2 separate regions of the Homo sapiens genome follow, and region 2 is linked to region 1. The links are contacts of gene promoters, found by promoter capture Hi-C in blood cells and fetal thymus (Javierre and others, 2016). All regions are on one chromosome and are shown on one strand. The core of a region is centred on a gene start or on the middle of the fragment in contact, and the rest is flanking DNA. Distances in the headings are between cores, read along the strand shown. Region 1 holds the start of MRPL19 (mitochondrial ribosomal protein L19). Region 2 overlaps LOC107985905 (a long non-coding RNA gene).

Region 1 (6,036 bases), core at 1,283-3,782:
CAGAGTTCATACTCAAATGTATGTCATTATCCTGGGAAGGTATTTTACATCTATTCGTTGCCCAATTCAAAATACAATCAAGCTTCACACATATTTGGTCATTAGTCTCTCAGACTAGGACTTTTTTCCAACTTTGTATTTTTATAACATTAACTTTTTTGAACAGTCAAGGCCTACTATCTCATCTCTGGATTCTGGATTGTTTCCACATGCCTAGACTAAGGTTAAATAATTTTAGTAAGAATATTACAGGGAGATGATGTGAACAACTTATTCTGTCACATCAGGAGACACATAATATCAACTGGTACCAATACTGGTAAAGTTAGGTTTGACTGTTTGGCAAAGTTTCAGAAGGCCCCCCTTACATTTCTTTTTACTTTTCATATGCATGTATGTCTGGGCAACATATATTGTTTCGTATAATTTTGTTTTTGTTTTTTTCTGAGACAGAGTCTTGCTCTATCGCCCAGGCTGGAGTGCAGTGGCACGATCTCGGCTCACTGCAACCTCGGCATCCTGTGTTCAAGCAATTCTTCTGCCTCAGCCTCTCGAGTAACTGGGATTATAGGCACATGCCACCACACCTGGCTAATTTTTTTTTTTTTTTGTACTTTTAGTAGAAATGGGGGTTTCGCCATGTTGGCCAGGCTGGTCTCGAACTCCTGACTTCGTGATCTGCCCTCCTCGGCCTCCCAAAGTGCTGGGATAACAGTCGTGAGCCACCGCACCCGGCCTATAGTTTTAAAACTTCATAAAAATAGCATCCTACTACATTAATGATTCTAAAGGTTTTTTTTACACACAGATTTGTGAAAATCTTCCATGTTTAAAAGTGAGCTCTAATTCACTCATTTTTCACTGCTATACAATATTCTGTCATATGAATGTATTTGCCTGTTCACCTACTGATGGATATCTAGGCTGCCTCTAAATTTTGTTACAAAAAATACTGTTACATTCATTCTCGTGCTTGTCTCCTTGTACATACACGTTAGGAGTTTAAGTTGTGTGCTTTCTGAGTGAGAAGGTATACACAACTTAAACTTAGTAAATTCTGTCAAATTGTTCTCTAGAGCATATAATTTACATTCCTATTTAAGTGAATTCTATTAAATGCCACTGTTTAAAAGAGATATTCCATTTCTACCCTCAAAAGCAAAGTTTTATGAAGAAATATTTTCTGAATCTCTTAGTTCTCTAACTCCAAGTTTACTTCTATTTAAATCCGTGGAATATTTTAAATGTTAAAAAAAGAAAAGAAAAAAAAAAGCCAGGCGTGGTACCAGTAGTTCCAGCTACTCTGGAGCCTGAGGCGGGAGGATCACTTGAGCCCAGAAATTTGAGGCTGCAGTGAGCTAAAATCACCACTGCACTCCAGCCTGGGAGACTGAGAGAGACTCTGTCTAAAAAAAATTTAAAAAATAAAAAAATTAAAAATCCCAGAAGTAATCCAATCAATAATCTACAGCCCTTTCAAAAAGCCTATAATCATATCAGGTTTTTCCTCTGAAAACTGGCTTTTTAAAAAGGTTGCTACATAGCTCTCTTTTCAGACCTTAAGTCCTTTAAATTTACATGTACCTCCAAGATTACCACCATTCATATAAGTTTTTATTCACACTATTTTGATGAGTAAGTTTCAGACACAATTTAGTGGCCAGTTTTACTGTGCTTTGTCTGCCAAAACTTCCAACCTAAACCATAGCAAATTTTTTAAGTTGGCCAATCGATTCCTATCCAGGGTTAAGGGTCTTTTGAGAGAAAAGAAGAGCTCTTGGACGTAAACAGGTATAAACAGGATATACCTCAGAGAAAAACTCTGGTACAGGACAAATACCACAGAGAAAAGAGTTTAAAATATGGGGAACCCCTACTTGAAGTTCTGACTCAATAAAACTGCAAAGAAGTTCAATGCTGGCTTGGGGAGAAGTGAGAAAGAAAGAACAGTGTGGTGCGCTGGCTCTTGAATCCTACACACCTGCTCGTGCAGGGGGAGGTGCAGCCCCCACCTTAGAGCCGGGACCTCGAACGCGAACGCGCTCACGCGCGCACCGACCCCAGTTGCCGGCCTAGCGCCAGGGCAGTGCCTCACCTGCGTTCCGGTTCCACGGGGCGGTGCTTGTCCACGATGACCGGTTTCGGCGGCGGTTGGAACGCACCGGGCTCGGAAGGCCCAGTGCTCTGCTGCCGGACAGGCCCCGCGTGGACCCCTGCGGGAGCGGACGACGGAGGTCAGAACTCTCGTGCCAACCCTGAGATCCCGCAGAGCCCCGCAATCTCCCCCAACCCGGCGTCCCACGGGGGACCAACGCTGGGGTTGCCTCTGATCTCCAGGTTCGCCTCCCCCATCCTGACCCTGGGCCCCTAACGCGCCCCAGCTCGCAAGTCCGGCTCCACTTACTGCAGGCGATAGAGGCCGGCGGGGGGAGCAGAGTCCTGGCGGCTTGGAAACTCCGGCCTAGGCCCATTGCAGCCCAGTGCCCCGCTGCAATGCAGGCCGCCATGCCAGCTAGCTCACGTCAAGACTACAGCTCCCAGTAATCAGTGCGACGAGGTTGTTGCTGTCTGCCACCATATGGCGGCTGCTATGGGACAAAATGGATAAGTCTCTCCTCGCTCCTTTCCTGATGTCTTAGGAAAAGTGCACGTTTCTCTAGTTCCTCGTAATGCGCCAAGTTACACCCCTCCACAGGGGTGTTCTCCCAGCCTAGAAAGCTTTTTCCTCCCCCTATGAATCCACTCTATCTTCTCAGACAAGCTTTCGCTATGCGAAAATCCCATTGTAGGCCGTCTTTCCCACTGGGTGCCTTCGATTGGCAGCTCTGATCTCATTTGCAATTCTTTCTTGTGTAATTATTAGATTAGTATTTAAATCTGCCATTATACTATAATGAGGCAAGGGAAGGGATAAAGTCTTCTTTTTGCTCACCATGTTATCCCAGCACCTAGCACCTACCTGGGCCCTCACTAACATCTTTTGTTTTGTTGAGACAAGGTCTTCCTCTGTTACCCAGGCTGGAGTGCAGTGGCGCGATCATGGCTCTGCAGCCTCCAACTCCTGATGTCAGGAGATCCTCTCACCTCAGCCTCCCGAGTAGCCAAGACTACAGTCTCGCACCATCACGCCCAGCTAATTTTTCTAATTCTTTGCTGAATGCACAGAAAAGAGAATAGAATAGTTCCTGACAGAACTGCTGGCCCATAGTCCTTGAGACTACACAAAGCATTAACCCTTTGAGGAACCCAAATGAATTTGGGCTGGGCAACTGTGGGTATGGATAGGTGGGAGAAGTAAAGCTGGAAAAGGTAAATTGTAAGTCTTGTTAAGAAATTTGGAAAATGACTGGGCGTGGCCAGGCATGCCTGTAATCCCAGCACTGTGGGAGGCCGAGACAGGAGGGTCCCTTGAGCTCATGAGTTGGAAACCAGCCTGGGCAATATAGTGAGACCGTATCTCTAAGAAACAAACACACAGCCGGGCGCAGTGGCTCACGCCTTTAACCCCAGCATTTTGGGAGGCCGAGGCGGGCAGATCGCCTGAGGTCAGGAGTTTGAGACTAGCCTGGCCAACATAGTGAAACCCCGTTTCTACCAAAAATAAAAAAAATGATCCAGGTGTGGTGGCAGGCTCCTGTAATCCCAGCTACTTGGGAGGCTAAGGCAGGAGAATCGCTTGAACCTGGGAGACAGAGGTTGCAGTGAGCCGAGATCGCGCCATTGCAACAAGAGCGAAACTCCGTCTCAAAAAAACAGAAAAAGAAACACACACAAAAAAAGAAATTTGGAATTTGTTATTTCAGCAGTGGTTATATAAGGATTGAACACTTAGAGTAATGTGATAATTTAACTACATAATAGTCATTCCAGTTGCATTAATGTCCCAAAGCTACCTCAAATTCAGCCTATCCATACTGAGTTCATCTTTTTCAGCTCCAGACTTCCTTCCCAGTATTGGCTATCTCAAGGAATGGCTTCAGCATCCACTCTCTTGCCTAAGCCAAAAATCTCAGTGCCATTCTTGATTCCTCCCTGTCTCCTCCTGGATGAAGTTCCAAAAACTATGCCTGACACCGTCAAATATCTCAGGAATCCATATACTTTCTCATCCTCCCATCCATATTTCCAATCTAGGTCAACATATTTTCTCTCTTCAGGATCCCTGGAGATCCCTGCAACAGCCTTCTCATTAGTCTTCTTGCCTCTGGTTACCTCCAGTCCTTCACGCAGCAACCAAAAAAAGATGGCTCAGAAATGCATACCCTGTTCTTTCCTTTCCCCAGTTTAAAGCCTTACTGTTTACTTTTGACAGAAGTCAAATGCTCATAAAAGCAACCAACCTCTGCAGCTTGGCCTCTATACTCTGACTTGCCATCCTGAAGAACATGAGCTGTTACATCAGCCTGAGGAACAGGGCCATGTTTTGAGCACAGAATTCAAGATGCTGTGAAGAAAGACAGGGCCTTCTATTTTAACTCTAGCTTCTTTGATTAGAACAAGAATTTATTCTATAAATGACAAGGAATCTCACAACCAAAATTTCAGATGAGCAATATTTTGGCTCTTCTACCTACCCGAAAAAGTAGACTTCAAGCCCTTAAGAGTAAAAGGGAGGAGAGGCAAAGATAATCATGACTGGCAGTGGTGAAGATTTTTCTGTATTAACCATGCCCAGAACACGTGGCCTTCACTCTTGCTGGGATTGGTCCTAAAGGTAGGGGCAGAGAAATAAAAGACAGACCTTCACAGGAGGACAGCAGGATTTACTAGACATTGCCAAGCCACTCCTGCTGCCCTCTCCTCTTCCACAGATGAAGGAATAGTTGTGTAGAGTTTTACAAAATTGGAAGAATGAACCTAAAGAATCTTATCTAATTTTCTCCCGTATTCTTGCTCATCCAACATATATCAGGCCGTTTTGACCTTATCTTAATTTGGAGAACAAGCTGGAGTTTAAATTATTCCAACTTAAGTTGTTATTAAACAACTTCATAGAGCAAAATCAAAGAGCACAGAGCTGGCTCAACCATTTTATGAGCTGATCACAGGAATAGAACTTTAATTATTTACTTCTGTGTTTTACACCCTTGGAAAGGAGATCATGAACATCATTACATAATGTTCAGCCAAGGGAAGAAAGTATTCCAGGCAAACTGGCTGCTTCAGGTTATTGTGACATCAGGATCCTTGTCGGTTTTGCTTGTTATTACATCCTCTATATTTAGTAGAGTATCTGGCACCCAATAAATATTTCTAAGTAAAATTAGATAGATCATTCTGATTGTACTTTAGAAAATGGCTGGGAAGCAGGAAATTATTGAAATATTCCAAAAGAGAGATGGTGCTAACCTGGAACAGAAAAAAAAAAAATGGTTCTTAAAGTGTGAGCCCTTGACTAGCAACATCAGCACAACCAGGGAACGTGTTAAAATTACAAATTCTCAGGTCCCGCCCCCAGACTTACTGAATTTAAAACTCTGGGCACAGAACCCAGTGATCTGTGCTTTAGCAAATCCTCCGGTGATTCTGATAGTTGTTCCAATTTGGGAACAATTGAGGTAGAGGCAATAGAGATAGAAAGTGGTATTTTTTTTTCTGTCTCTCCATCTATTTGTGAGGTAGAGTCAGTAAAAAAAATTTCTGAAATGTACTAACTGGAGTCTTTGAGAGAGGTTCCCATCTCTGCCTTTTCTTCTTCATGGGTAATAGGATAGAGGTATGCCTACCTCATTGGGTTGGTATAAGGATTAAATTGTGATAATGCATAAAGTTTGCAGATAAATGTATAGATCATAATAAAATTCTTTTTTTCCAACTTTACTGAGACATGATTGAAAGATAAAAATTTGTATATATTTAAGGTGTACAACATGATGATTTGATATATGTATGCAATGTGAAATGATTATCACAGTTTAGCTAATTAACATATCCTTCACCTAATTAAAAAAAAAAGCTTTTTGTAAAACTTATTTTAAAGATGCCAGCAAGAGGAAACTATAATCTGATTCATGTATTAACACATCCAAAAAAAGA
Region 2 (6,036 bases), core at 1,693-4,192, 8.7 Mb before region 1:
CTGAGGCAGAGAATTGCTTAAAACCTGGAGGGGCAGAGGTTGCAGTGAGCTGAGATCCCACCACTGCACTCCAGCCTGGGTGACACAGCAAGACTCCGTCTCAAAAGAAAACCACTTTTGAGTATTATATTGTGAAAACATCAGACTTTGTATGTAGAATAAGTTTATATCATTTTGGCTGGTAAATATTTGTCAAGCATGTGAGGTATTTTTGTTGAAACCCTCTGGCTGGCTGATCTCTCCTTGCTACTCCTTCAGACACACCAGGGTTTAATGGCTGAAAACCTAAACACTGTGTCAAAGGCAGGTATGAAAGAAATGAGGAATTTAACCAGTCATAGCACCAAAGAGAAAAGACAGCTGAGGAGGGCTTTAGAAATCTTCCATCCAGCCTTTGTTGGACAGATGTGGAAACTGAGGCCAGAAGGGAAGTGGCAGAGTAACCTAGCTTGTGGAGGGCAGGGTCAGGCTGGGAACTAGGATGGTTGATGGCTGGTCCAGCCTAGCCTCTTTCAGGGAGCGCACGGTGAAGGGCTGCCTCTCAAGAGTTTATGTCTGTTAGGAGCAGAGAACACAAAAGTCCTGTGTTCCCTTCACCAGTCCTTTCTCCAGGCTAGAAAAATGATGATGTCAGAAGGATCTCATAAGCCCTGTGTGGAGATTTGGCATTCAGCTCCTCACTCTGCCCTAGAGAGGTTTTGTTATGCCAGACAGGGGCTCTGAACATCTCAGTCTGTCAGTGAGTGAGAAGCCTATTGGACTTGCTGGCTTCATCAGGCAAGGTGTGGAGAGATGTCAAGAGACCCCCCCCGGAGGATCCAAATCAATACTAGGCATGAAAACAAAGCTGGCTTTGACGCCCCCGAGTTAACAAAGGAAAGTTTCTTTGCTGCTTAGACAAGTTAGAACCACACAAAAATGGTTAAAAGTATTTTAGGATCTTTTCCCCCACCTCAGATAGTTTTGGCTTTGAGAAGAGATTTTTCCCATGGTGCAACTGGGCATACTTGGATCTATATGAGGAGGAAAAGTAAAATAAGGTAAATGAAGAGTTTGCCTTCTGTTGGTTGATAATCTACAAAGCTTCCACTCACCTTCTGTCCCAGCACCCAGGAGTCATATTCCTTTCTGACTGCCCACTGCTAGCAAATCAAGCCACTCTCCTGCACATCAGTCTTGATTCTGCAACTTTGCTTCCTTCACCCAAACTTATATGCACAATGTTCACACACTCCCTATTCCTTATTCCTTCAAGGCCTTGCTTGAAGTGCTTGAAGCTGGTTAACTAGCTAGATGCTGTATAAGTTTATAGTTTTGGATATAAATACTTTGCCCTCGGAGAGAGACTAATGCTCTGTGATTTTGGACAAGCCATTTAGTATCTTGGAGCTTCCATTTTTCTTATCAGTGAATAAGTGATGTTTGCTCTACCAATGCAAGAGAATTGTTGCAAGATTTAAAACCCATGTGAATTAATGAATGTAAAAAAGACCTTGGTCAAACTGTTGCATGCTTTATAATAAGTGAGATAGCATGATTAAATGCCTTAAAGAAGTCAATTTTCAAGGCTTATGTCTGGTTAAGGGGTAGAAAATTGTTGGTAGATAACCCCCCCTACTCCCAGATTCACCAGCAGAACTTACATTCCTCTGCCTGTGTCTGTTTTGCCCTACTCCTTTGTTTAACCCCTTCCTTGTCTTAGCTTTCTTCTAGAGAGGGGAAGGGGTGCCCCTGGTGACTTAACTTCTTATGCATATTACATTGAGGCAAATCTAAAATGAGCCTCTGCAGAAGGAGAACAAATGCCATCCCCTGGAGAAGGATCGGAATGCTTTGCTTTTTATTTCTTTCAGGGGTCTGAGTGTGTGCCGGATTGCATGGTCTAGGGAGGAGATGCTGAGTGCAACTTTTCCTGTTTCTCAGAATTGGTGCCTGGGGGCCCAAAAATGAGGATGAAAAGGCCCCAAATAACCCATGTTCTAAAGAGAGAAGCCAAAAAATGCACCAATTTCCCAGCTCAGCCTTCCTGGTCTGTGGCTGCCATCCCAGGTGTCATCCTCACTCTCCACCCTACCTTCTGGTTCATTGTTCATTGCTCTAAGGGATGAGAACACAAGGAGGGGAGAGAGTTATCACTACCGTGAACCTCAGGTGTGATGTGCTCCTGGAAAGAGGTGTTTCCTACTATCCCTGAAAAAAAAAAATACCGTTTGTATTTGTACCCACCCCCCACCATCGAGCTGTCAACCCCCCTCATTAAGACACTTGTACCAGGGAAAAGGAGTAATGGGAATAAAAGACAAGAGCAACTTGAGTCTTCATTTCATTGCTCACATCGCTCTGTCCTGCTGCTTTCTTCACCGAAGTACTGGGTTTCTATTCCAAACCAGCTACAATGAACAGTCTTCATTCGGAGTTGGGACTATGGTCTCAACATGGGACTACTGGGGACCCTCTAATAGCCTTGTCCTAGACACACATGACTTTGGCCACCTCAGTAGCAAGAGGGATCTGAAGGGATATGCTCGAGATCCCTGGAATCCTCAGAAATGTCTACAGGCAGGTGTCCTGGGGTCCTGCATAGAAGGGCACTGGCCAGGCCTTGAGTGAGCTCAGCGGGGCCTCTAGACTCACCTGAGATCACAGCCAGGTCGCTCTCCTGCTCTCCTGGTGCTGATTCCAGCTCCTTTCTGTTATTCTGTAGCCCTCAGGATTTGGGTGTCCTTCGGACTGTCCTGTTGGGAACCCTTCCTCACAGTCCTCACATCGACTGAGCAGACTGAGCGGGCACCACGTCTGGCTCCTTTGCTTATGCTCAGCTACTGGATTGCAGTCCCAGAAACGCCACCTTGACAAGGTTAGCCTGCAATGCGTGAGGCGAAGGAAGGCCACAAGGTGGCAGCAGAGGATTACCCACTTGCTAGTGGAGTCGGGAGGCTCTATGGGGGTGGGGAAATGGAGTTTCCTTACCACAGAGCGGGTTGGAAAGCAAGTGAACCAACATTTTAGAGGACTAAGAGATCAATAGGAACAGGTGCAGAAAGATTCCAGGAGGGTGTTGAGGTAGGGCTTGAATAGAAAGACTAATAATCATGTATTAAATGTTTATTATGAAGCTGGCAATGCTTCATAAGTGTAAGCACTTACACATTACATGATCCATTTCTTAGAACAACCCTGCAATTATTCCTATTCTACTTGTGAGAAAATAGAGGCTCAGATTAATTGAGTTACTGGCCCAAGTTCACATAGCTATTAATTGATGGAATTAGGAATAAAAACCAGGTCTGACAGACTGTAAAGCCCGGGTTTTGAACTTCTATGTTAAACAGTGCAAACATCAGGATAGACTAGTGGTTCTCAAAGCGTGGTCCTGGAACCCCCTGGGATTCGCATCACCTGGTGACTTGTTATAGTGCACATTCTTGGCCAGGCGCAGTGACTCACACTTGTGATTCCAGCATTTTGGGAGGCCGAGGTGGGCAAATGACTTGAGGTCAGGAGTTTGAGACAGGCCTGGCCAATATGGTGAAACCCCGTCTCTACTAAAAACACAAAAATTAGCTGGGCATGGTGGCACATGCCTGTAGTATCAGCTACATGGGAGGCTGAAGCAGGAGAATTGCTTGAACCCAGAAGGCAGAGGTTGTCGTGAGCTGAGATTCTGCCACTGCACTCCAGCCTGGGCAATAGAGTGAGACTCCATCTTTTAAAAAAATATATAATAATAATAAAAAAATGCAAATTCTCAAACCTACTGAATCAGAAACCCTGGGGTGGGGCTCAGCAATCTGTGTGAGTGTGTGTGTGTGCGTGTGTGTGTGTTTTAATTTTAAATATATATTTTAGTACAGGCAGGGTCTTGCTATGTTGCCCAGGCTGGTTCCCAACTCCTGGCTTGAAGTGATCCACCTCGGCCTTCGAAAGTGCTGGAATTACAGATGTGAACCACCCTTCCTGGCCCCAATCTGTGCTTTAAAAGCCCTCTGCCAGGATTCTGATGCTGCTCCAGTTTGAGAAGCACTGGGATAGATAATATTCCAGCCTGTCAAGTGCTGAGCTGTGGATTTGCCTATGAGCATTGCCTGTCATGGTGCAGTCACCTCTGATGGAGCTGGAACTGCCCCACCCTTGACATTGACATTAGGCCAGCTGCTCCCAAAGGTAAGGAAGTGGTTCACTCCAATTCTACCCCTTACCTGCTGACATTTTTCTCCCTCTTTAGCTGTAGGTGGGGGAGAACAGTCTTTGTGGAACTCAGAACTGGAAATTTTCTCTTCATTAACATGACAAACAGGCTACCTCTATCAAGGACAGCCCGGTGAGACTGGCCTGGAATTTAGAATCTCCTTATAAATAAAGTCTCAGCTTTAAGCATTAATGAAAGACGTGAGATCTTTATGGTGCCATTCATTTCTGATCTTGCCAATTTGGTAGCTAAAGAGTGACTGCTATCTTTTTCCAAGCCACTAATTATGCAACTCTGTCCTGATGTGTGCTAGTTCAGGTTCTTAGCAAAAATTGTTATTCCTGTAAAAATATAACATTTAAGACTGGAAGGAAAGACTCCATATAATTAATCTTTGTATTTTAGCTAAGAATTTTGGAGTGATTTTAAGTTGCTTCTTTGTGCTTTAAGAAACTTTTGTTTTTAACTTTGAAGTGTGTACACATTTTTCAATAAGAGAAGAAAATAATGCTGTTTTATAAGCAAGTCTTTTATTCTGTGAGATGAACCCATCAGAATGAAAGTTATGTGCCTGAAATTCCTGATGATTTGACAAGGGAAGACTGAAGCTTTTGTATAGCCATTTAAAGAAAAAGAAAACTCATTAATTTTCAGCTTATTCATTTGATATTTGTGCTTATATCCATAGGAGATAGGTGGTATTTTTTTGTTTGTTTTTTTTACTGAGGTTACAAAAGGATATTAAGAACAAGGCAATGTTTAGGAGAGCAGATTGTTTAAACGGAGTTTGAACTACCTTTGACATTCTCATGTGTATGCTAACACTGATGTGCTTATTACAAATTTTTTCTTATATATTCATTCAATTCATTCATCGGATTATAGATGGTGTCTCTCTACATTAACACCTATCTGTAGCTTTAAAATCAGACTGTGGGATATATTAGTATACCCAGTAAGCTCTAATCATTTGTGACTGTTTATTCAGACACATACAGAAATGACACATTCAGGAATCCTCTTTCTAGGGTGAATCCCAGAACACCTCTAATGGCTTGGATATCTGAGGTTGCAGATATGAAGCAACAAGATGTGTTTAAGTGATCATCTCTCACAGGATGGGCTTTTGGATACTTCAAAAATGTATGGAAGCCAAGTAGCCTTGGGGAGGTAAAGACCTCTCAAGGTGAACTCCTCATTAGCAAAGGACCCTTCTGATGTAGAGAAACCAAGACCTCTGGGTGCCCCTCAAAGGCAAGCTGGTTCTCAGACTCCATCAGATCTCAGATAAGCTTCTGAGGACAGGGGGCCACAGCAGCAGCAGTAGTGGCACATGCCAGCTGACCCCCATGGACTGAGCTGCAGAGGACCCGCCGGCCTTGCTAGAAAGGAAAGTGACTCTTCTGAAGCAGGGGGGACTGAGCAGGAGCACCACCTGGCAGAGCCCCTCCTCTACAGGGCTCCATGCAGACAGGCCTGAGAATGAAAGATGTGTATTATGCATATTATCTCATTTATACATTTGTCCCTTGCTTGTCTTCCCCATTAGAATTGTTAAAAAGGAAAAATCTCAAGTTTAAATTTATCAGAGTTTCTATGAGCAAAAAAACCCAAAAAACAACAACAAAAATGATTAGTGAAGTGAATCTGGCAGCCCCCAGAACCAGAACAGGGTCAAAGAGCTTCTGTGTGCTACATGATCAGACAGCAGCATTTATGGACAGAAAAGGGAAGTGAGGTAAAAAGAACAACTTAGTTATAGCTCAGCATTTTGTCTTACTTGAATCAGCTGACCACCTACCATTGACTGAAGTTCAGCTGTTTGTTACATGAGTATACTTCTAAAT

What was found. Contacts are between HindIII fragments. The CHiCAGO score rates a contact against its expected background, and 5 or more counts as called.
Region 2: a contact is called between a fragment that was not itself captured here and the fragment with the promoter of MRPL19 in region 1, in 1 of 17 cell types (total CD4 T cells). The highest score is 8.8, in total CD4 T cells.

The regions. Positions count from the first base shown.
Region 1 is chr2:75,643,279-75,649,314 of GRCh38, reverse strand. MRPL19 (mitochondrial ribosomal protein L19) reads right to left here and starts at 2,532. Exons shown (of 6, transcript NM_014763.4): 1 at 2,405-2,532; 2 at 2,096-2,213. The coding sequence starts at 2,507. RefSeq lists enhancers at 2,303-2,602, 2,438-2,732. The HindIII fragment of the contact is 2,636 bases long and covers 85-2,720 here.
Region 2 is chr2:84,311,858-84,317,893 of GRCh38, reverse strand. The region is part of intron 1 of LOC107985905 (a long non-coding RNA gene); the gene reads left to right. Among named protein-coding and RNA genes, the nearest start is that of SUCLG1, 140 kb to the left of the region's middle. The HindIII fragment of the contact is 3,714 bases long and covers 1,086-4,799 here.